2 separate regions of the Homo sapiens genome follow, and region 1 is linked to region 2. Evidence: promoter capture Hi-C in 16 types of primary human blood cells and fetal thymus (Javierre and others, 2016). All regions are on one chromosome and are shown on one strand. The core of a region is centred on a gene start or on the middle of the fragment in contact, and the rest is flanking DNA. Distances in the headings are between cores, read along the strand shown.

Evidence for each region. The method cuts DNA at HindIII sites, captures the fragments that hold promoters and counts their contacts. A CHiCAGO score of 5 or more calls a contact.
Region 1: a contact is called between the fragment with the promoter of LPIN1 here and the fragment with the promoter of DDX1 in region 2, in 2 of 17 cell types (non-activated CD4 T cells and naive CD8 T cells). The highest score is 10.2, in non-activated CD4 T cells.

What each region holds. Positions count from the first base shown.
Region 1 is chr2:11,745,273-11,747,972 of GRCh38, reverse strand. LPIN1 (lipin 1) reads right to left here and starts at 1,341. Exons shown (of 21, transcript NM_001349206.2): 1 at 1,302-1,341. LOC124907735 (a long non-coding RNA gene) reads left to right here and starts at 2,514. Exons shown (of 2, transcript XR_007086220.1): 1 at 2,514-2,700. RefSeq lists enhancers at 1-89, 2,601-2,700 and a silencer at 1,093-1,662. The HindIII fragment of the contact is 2,521 bases long and covers 406-2,700 here.
Region 2 is chr2:15,590,438-15,593,137 of GRCh38, reverse strand. It overlaps DDX1 (DEAD-box helicase 1), which reads right to left and starts at 1,270. Exons shown (of 26, transcript NM_004939.3): 1 at 1,189-1,270. The coding sequence starts at 1,204. LOC124905975 (a long non-coding RNA gene) reads left to right here and starts at 1,369. Exons shown (of 2, transcript XR_007086224.1): 1 at 1,369-1,678; 2 at 1,806-2,700. RefSeq lists an enhancer at 1,172-1,231. The HindIII fragment of the contact is 5,190 bases long and covers 1-2,642 here.

The sequences.
Region 1 (2,700 bases), core at 92-2,591, 3.8 Mb after region 2:
TCCCACAGAGCTCAGGCAGAGCCCAGACCTCCCGACCCGAGTCCAGGGCTATATCCAGGCCTGGCTCCACAGGACCACAGGGCCCCACATGCAAATAGGAATAATAAGCGCCAAAACACACAACCCATGCACAAAAACACTCAATAACAAATGCTGGCAAACGTGAAGTGCTATCAAAGTATATAATCATAAATCCAACTGTTACACCTTTCAACAAGAATCTGGGAGCAAGAAAAGTGTTCATGTGTGGATGTGCTTATTTCTCAAATACTATACATTCCTCAACTGCTTACTTTCATTAATAAGACCCAAATTACGGAACAAAGGATAAACAGTCAATCTCACAATCACTACCCCTAGACCACCATACCACAACACCCCCAATTAAAAAAACGGCTACAAGCTTTGATTTCCCAAAACACTTCTATCCTGTGGGAAACTGCCGGGTTCTAAAACATCTCCAAATTAATACTGCCAGTTGTCTTAGTTGGTTTCCTGCTTGCTGATCAAAAACAGGGTTGACATCTGCTTTCTCCAGCAACTACTGACCACACAAATTACCTACTCTAGCTCCACAGCACTTAAGTTACTCCCAAAACGTTACTTCTCATCCTGCATTTTCCTGGCCTTGCCCATAATAAAATTACGTGCAGGAGCAGCTGACGGAGCTCACTAGGCCTAGCACCTCCTAGGCTGCAAGAAAGGTGCAGAGGCCTCGCAGGGGAGAGCTGTAATATGAGAACCGGGATTCCAACCTGGGCTCAGCCTGCCCTGCCGCCCGGCAACTGTATGACCTTGGGCACAGAGGTCAACCTCCCTGAGCCTCAGTTTCCTCAACTGCAGCGCTGGAATCCTAACTCCGGGGGAAAGAAAGGCTCTCATCCCAGTCCCCGGCGCAAAGCTGGGGATGATCGCGCAGAGCCAGGACGCACCCGCGCTGGCCGGCTGGAGCTAGTCCCCGCGGTTCTGGGACTGCGCGGCAGCCCCCAGTGGCCCCTACGCCGCTCGAGATCAGCCAAGCCGGGCCCACACCGGGCCTCGCGGCGCGTCAGGAAAGCCAGGCCCGAGGGATGCTCGCGAGGCCCTCCCGGCCTCCGGGGCCTGTTTCCCCGCCTCCCTCCCCCGAACCACTTCCCGTAGAGGGCCCCGGGGACGTAGCCCGGCCGTCGGTCCTCGGGCCCCGGGGCCGAGCCCCCGCCTCGCCACGCGTCCTCAGCGCCCCGGCGCCGCGCCCCGCCCCGCCTAACCCGAGGCTGCGGCCCCTGCTCCACAGCGGGAGGCTGGAGGCGGCGGCTACTCACCGAGCGGCGCCGCGCGTGGCCGCCTTTGTATTGCAAACACCCAGCCCGCCGCCGGCTGTCAGCGCAGCTCGCCTTCGGGGGCGGGGCAGGGGCGGGGGCAGAGGGCAGGGGCGGGGCAAGCGGGGCGGTGCGAGGGGGACTCGGGACGCGCTGGTGGCCCGGCTGCTTTCAGGGCCTGCTGGCCGGCCCTGCCCGCTCACCCCTGGCCGCCTATCTTAGCGTTCCTGGGGGTGGGGCCCCTTAGGCCGCCTTTCTGATTTTCCTTTCCAGAGCCAAACTCGTGTGTTTCTTCAACACTCTGACTTGACCTATGCCGATGACTGGGGGAGTGAGGACGGAGGGGTGCAGAGAAAAGGCAGCCAGGTAAAAGTCCAGGTAAACCACCCAGGGCCTGGCCGCGATCACGTCGGTCCTATGGGTCCCGCTTATCACCAGTGGCGGGATCTGAGCCCGTCCTTGACTTTACTGACCCTCGCCCTTCGTTTCTTCCACCTTAAAGGCGCAATCGCGTTGACCTATCGCCATCTCTTCTTAGCTTCTCCACGCCGGGCCACCCCTGTCCTTCATCCTGATGGTGACAGCCTCCACTCCCGCCTCTGCCAAGCGGTGGTCCAGGTGCGGAACGGTGGCTCTGAACAGGAGGGACAGGCAGCTCCCTGCGCCTCTCCAGCCGGGAGGCAGGCAGCGGATAAACAATGAGCCACATAACGTCTGGTGGTGAAATGATTTCCATCAATGGGAGGGTGTCATATTTGAACTGAAACTCTAAATGACAAGAAACACCTATGACTACAAAGATGGGGAGGAGGCAGGGCTTTCTGGAGAGCAGAAATGGCAGGTGCAAAGGTCCTGGGGCCGGTGCTGTGGGCTGGAGGGAAGGCAGGGGCCAAATATTCAGGTCTTGTAGGCCAAGGCAAGGAGTTTAGGTATTATTTAAATGTTATTCCAAACCAATTCTTTTTGAGACAGGGTCCCACTCTGTCACCCAAGCTACAGTGCAGTGGCACAATCTCGGTTCACTGCAGCCTTCACCTTCTGGCCTCAGGCAATCCTCCTGCCTCAGCCTCTCAAGTAGCTGGGACCACAGGTGCATGCCACCACGCCCAGCTAATTTTTCAAACTATTTGTAGAGACCAGGTCTCCCTATGTTGCCCAGGCTGGTCTCAAACTGCTGGGCTCAAGCAGTCTTCCCACCTTGGCTTCCCAAAGTGCTGAGATTACAGGTGTGAACCACCACGCCTGGTCCAAAAAGAATTTTAAACCTGGGAATTATATGATCTAATTTACTTCTTTAAAAAGTCACCCCTCCACTCCATGGAAAATGGACTGCAGGAGTAGAAGCCAGCAGACAGGTGGCACTGCAGGAAACCGGGGGACATGATGGTGGCTCAGATTACAG
Region 2 (2,700 bases), core at 21-2,520:
CCAGCCTGGCCAACATGGTGAAACCCCCGTCTCTACTAATAATACAAAAATGAGCAGGGCATGGTGGTAGGCGCCTGTAATCCCAGCTACTCAGGAGGCTGAGGCAGGAGAATTGCTTGAACCTGGGAGGTGGAGGCTGCAGTGAGCCAAGATCACACCATTGCACTCCAGCTGGGGCGACAGAAGGAGACTACATCCCCCCACCCCCCCATTCTCCCCCCCAAAAAAGAAAAAAAATATCTTACATGACTGGAGATATGGAATTCCTAATATTCTTACAGAAGAAAACTAAAAAATATAAAATACTACATCTGAAGTCATCTTAAAAAGTTAATAACATTAAAGGACATTAGGCCTAACGTGATACATTTATATAGCAATAAACGTTACATAAGTGCTACATAAATGTATCACGTTTAGCGCATTTAAGGCTGATTACAGCTTCCTAAAACTGGATGCCTAACAGGAGGATGATAAAGCAAGAGGCGAAAATATCAACTGTAGGGTTCGATAAGCCATATCAAATCATATTTGGAATAAAGGAGGGTAGCAGACGGCAAATAAATATGAATTTTCCAAACTTATGTTGGACTGGTGCGTACGTTAATGAAAATGCTTTCCCTTTAGCTTCAACACTGAACATTAATGTTGATATAACAACGTTTAAGAACAAATAAAGATCAGGTTTATGCCTGGGACGTTTTGGAAGGGCCTGAAAAAACTGGACAGAGGCAGGATCGTCATTTTTCCCCAATGACTCCTCCCCACGCCGTCTCGCCTCTCTGCCTGGCCAAGCCCAGATGAGCCGCGGGCAGAAAAGGGTTCCCAAAGGGTCACTGCCACGTTAAGAGGCAGGAGGCCCAGGCGTCTGGGAGCCGCCAGAGCAACGCCGCCGCCTAGATTTTGCAGCCGAAGGTGCACTGGCAGGAAAGCCAAGTGGAGACTGGTAGAAGGGAAAGGGCAGGGGGAGGGACGTTCCGGCCCGCTCCTGGGAAGAATCGTCCTCCGAACCCGAGCCGCGGCCGCCCCTGATCCCGCAACGCGGGTCCATCAGGGACTGCAGCGGACAGCGCCCTTCTGTCTCCCTGACCCCTGTCCGCTCCCGCCCCTTTAGCTCTCCGCGGGCGGCCCCAGGGCTGAGGCGTGCAACAAGCCGCCCCACCACCCCCAGAGTTTCCACAAACGCACCGGAGAAGGCCGCCATCTTCACCCCGTCCTCCGCGGCTTCGCCTGCTCGCTCCCTCCCTCCCGACTGACACGGCGTGGCAGTGGCGGCGCGCGCTTCCGGCCCCTGGTCTTCGGCGTTCGGAGTCCGGGCAGGGACTCAGCCCCGGGAGAACGGTTCCGATGGAAGGAAAGGCCCGCGCCGGCCCCGCCTTATGCGCCTGCCGCTGAGCGGACCTCTGGGACCTAGGGCTTCTGGACGCCGCCTTCGTTCTGGGCACCATGTGTTCGGAGCACACCACGCGGTATCAGGGTCACAGCTACAGAGAAGGAAGCAGATGTTTGGTGATTAGGGTCATCCAGTGGGCTCAGGCTGACACCACACCGTGCCCTCCCCACTCAGTCCCCCAGCTTTCCAAAGGTGAGCAGGGCCTTGGTGTGTGAATGACCCGGAGAGATGGACTGGATTCATTGCCCTGAGCACCAATGCCAGTGAGTGCCTGGCAGCCAGTAGGTATTTGTTACATTTTTTTTTTAAACTAAGTAATGATTTAGGTCTCCCTCCCTTCACCCATGTTTGATGTCGCTTTTATAATTTCGGGTTTGACTTCCATGCAATTTTAACTCCTTTCTCTTTGCAGAGAGATGGGGAAAGTAAATGAGGAATCCTCCCAACCAGACACTCACTCTGTCAGGAAGGTATTAGAATCTTTAGATGAGGACTCTAAAATTCGGGAAAGTTAAGTCACTTATCTAAAGACACATATCTACCGAATGGCAGCGTGGGATCTGAGCCACATCTGCGCAATGCGAGGGCGCGTGCTGTGCTATCTGTAGCCTGCCCCAGAGTGTCATGGAGAAAAGTGGAACCCTCAGGCAAGATAGAATAGGGTTGCAGCGGCCGGGCGCGGGGGCTCACGCCTGTAATCCCAGCACTTTGGGAGGCCGAGGCAGGCGGATCACGAAGTCAGGAGGTCGAGACCATCCTAGCTAACACGGTGAAACCCCTTCTCTACAAAAAATACACACACACACACACACACACACACACACAGAAGAAGCCGGGTGTGGTGGTGCATGCCTGTAGTCCCAGCTACTCGGGAGGCTGAGGCAGGAGAATCGCTTGAACCCAGGAGGCGAAGGTTGCAGTGAGCCGAGATCGCGCCACTGCACTCCAGCCTGGGTGACCGAGCGAGACTCCGTCTCAAAAAAAAAAAAAAAGAAAAAAGAATAGGGTTGCAGCTACTCCGGAGGCTGAGGCATGAGAATCACATGAACCTGGGAGGCGAAAGCTGCAGTGAGCTGAGATCGTGCCACTACACTCTAGCCTGGGCGACAGAGGGAGAGTCTGTCTCAAAAAAATAAAAAATAAAAAAGATAGAATAGGGTTAGAAGTACAGAGTTGGGAACCATATTCTGAGTTTGGATTCTAGGTCTGCCACTTGCTTGCTGTGTGACCTTGAACAAGTCATGAAGCTTCTTTGGGCTTCAGTTTACTTACCTGTGAAATAGGGATGAACAATAGTACCTTTCTCA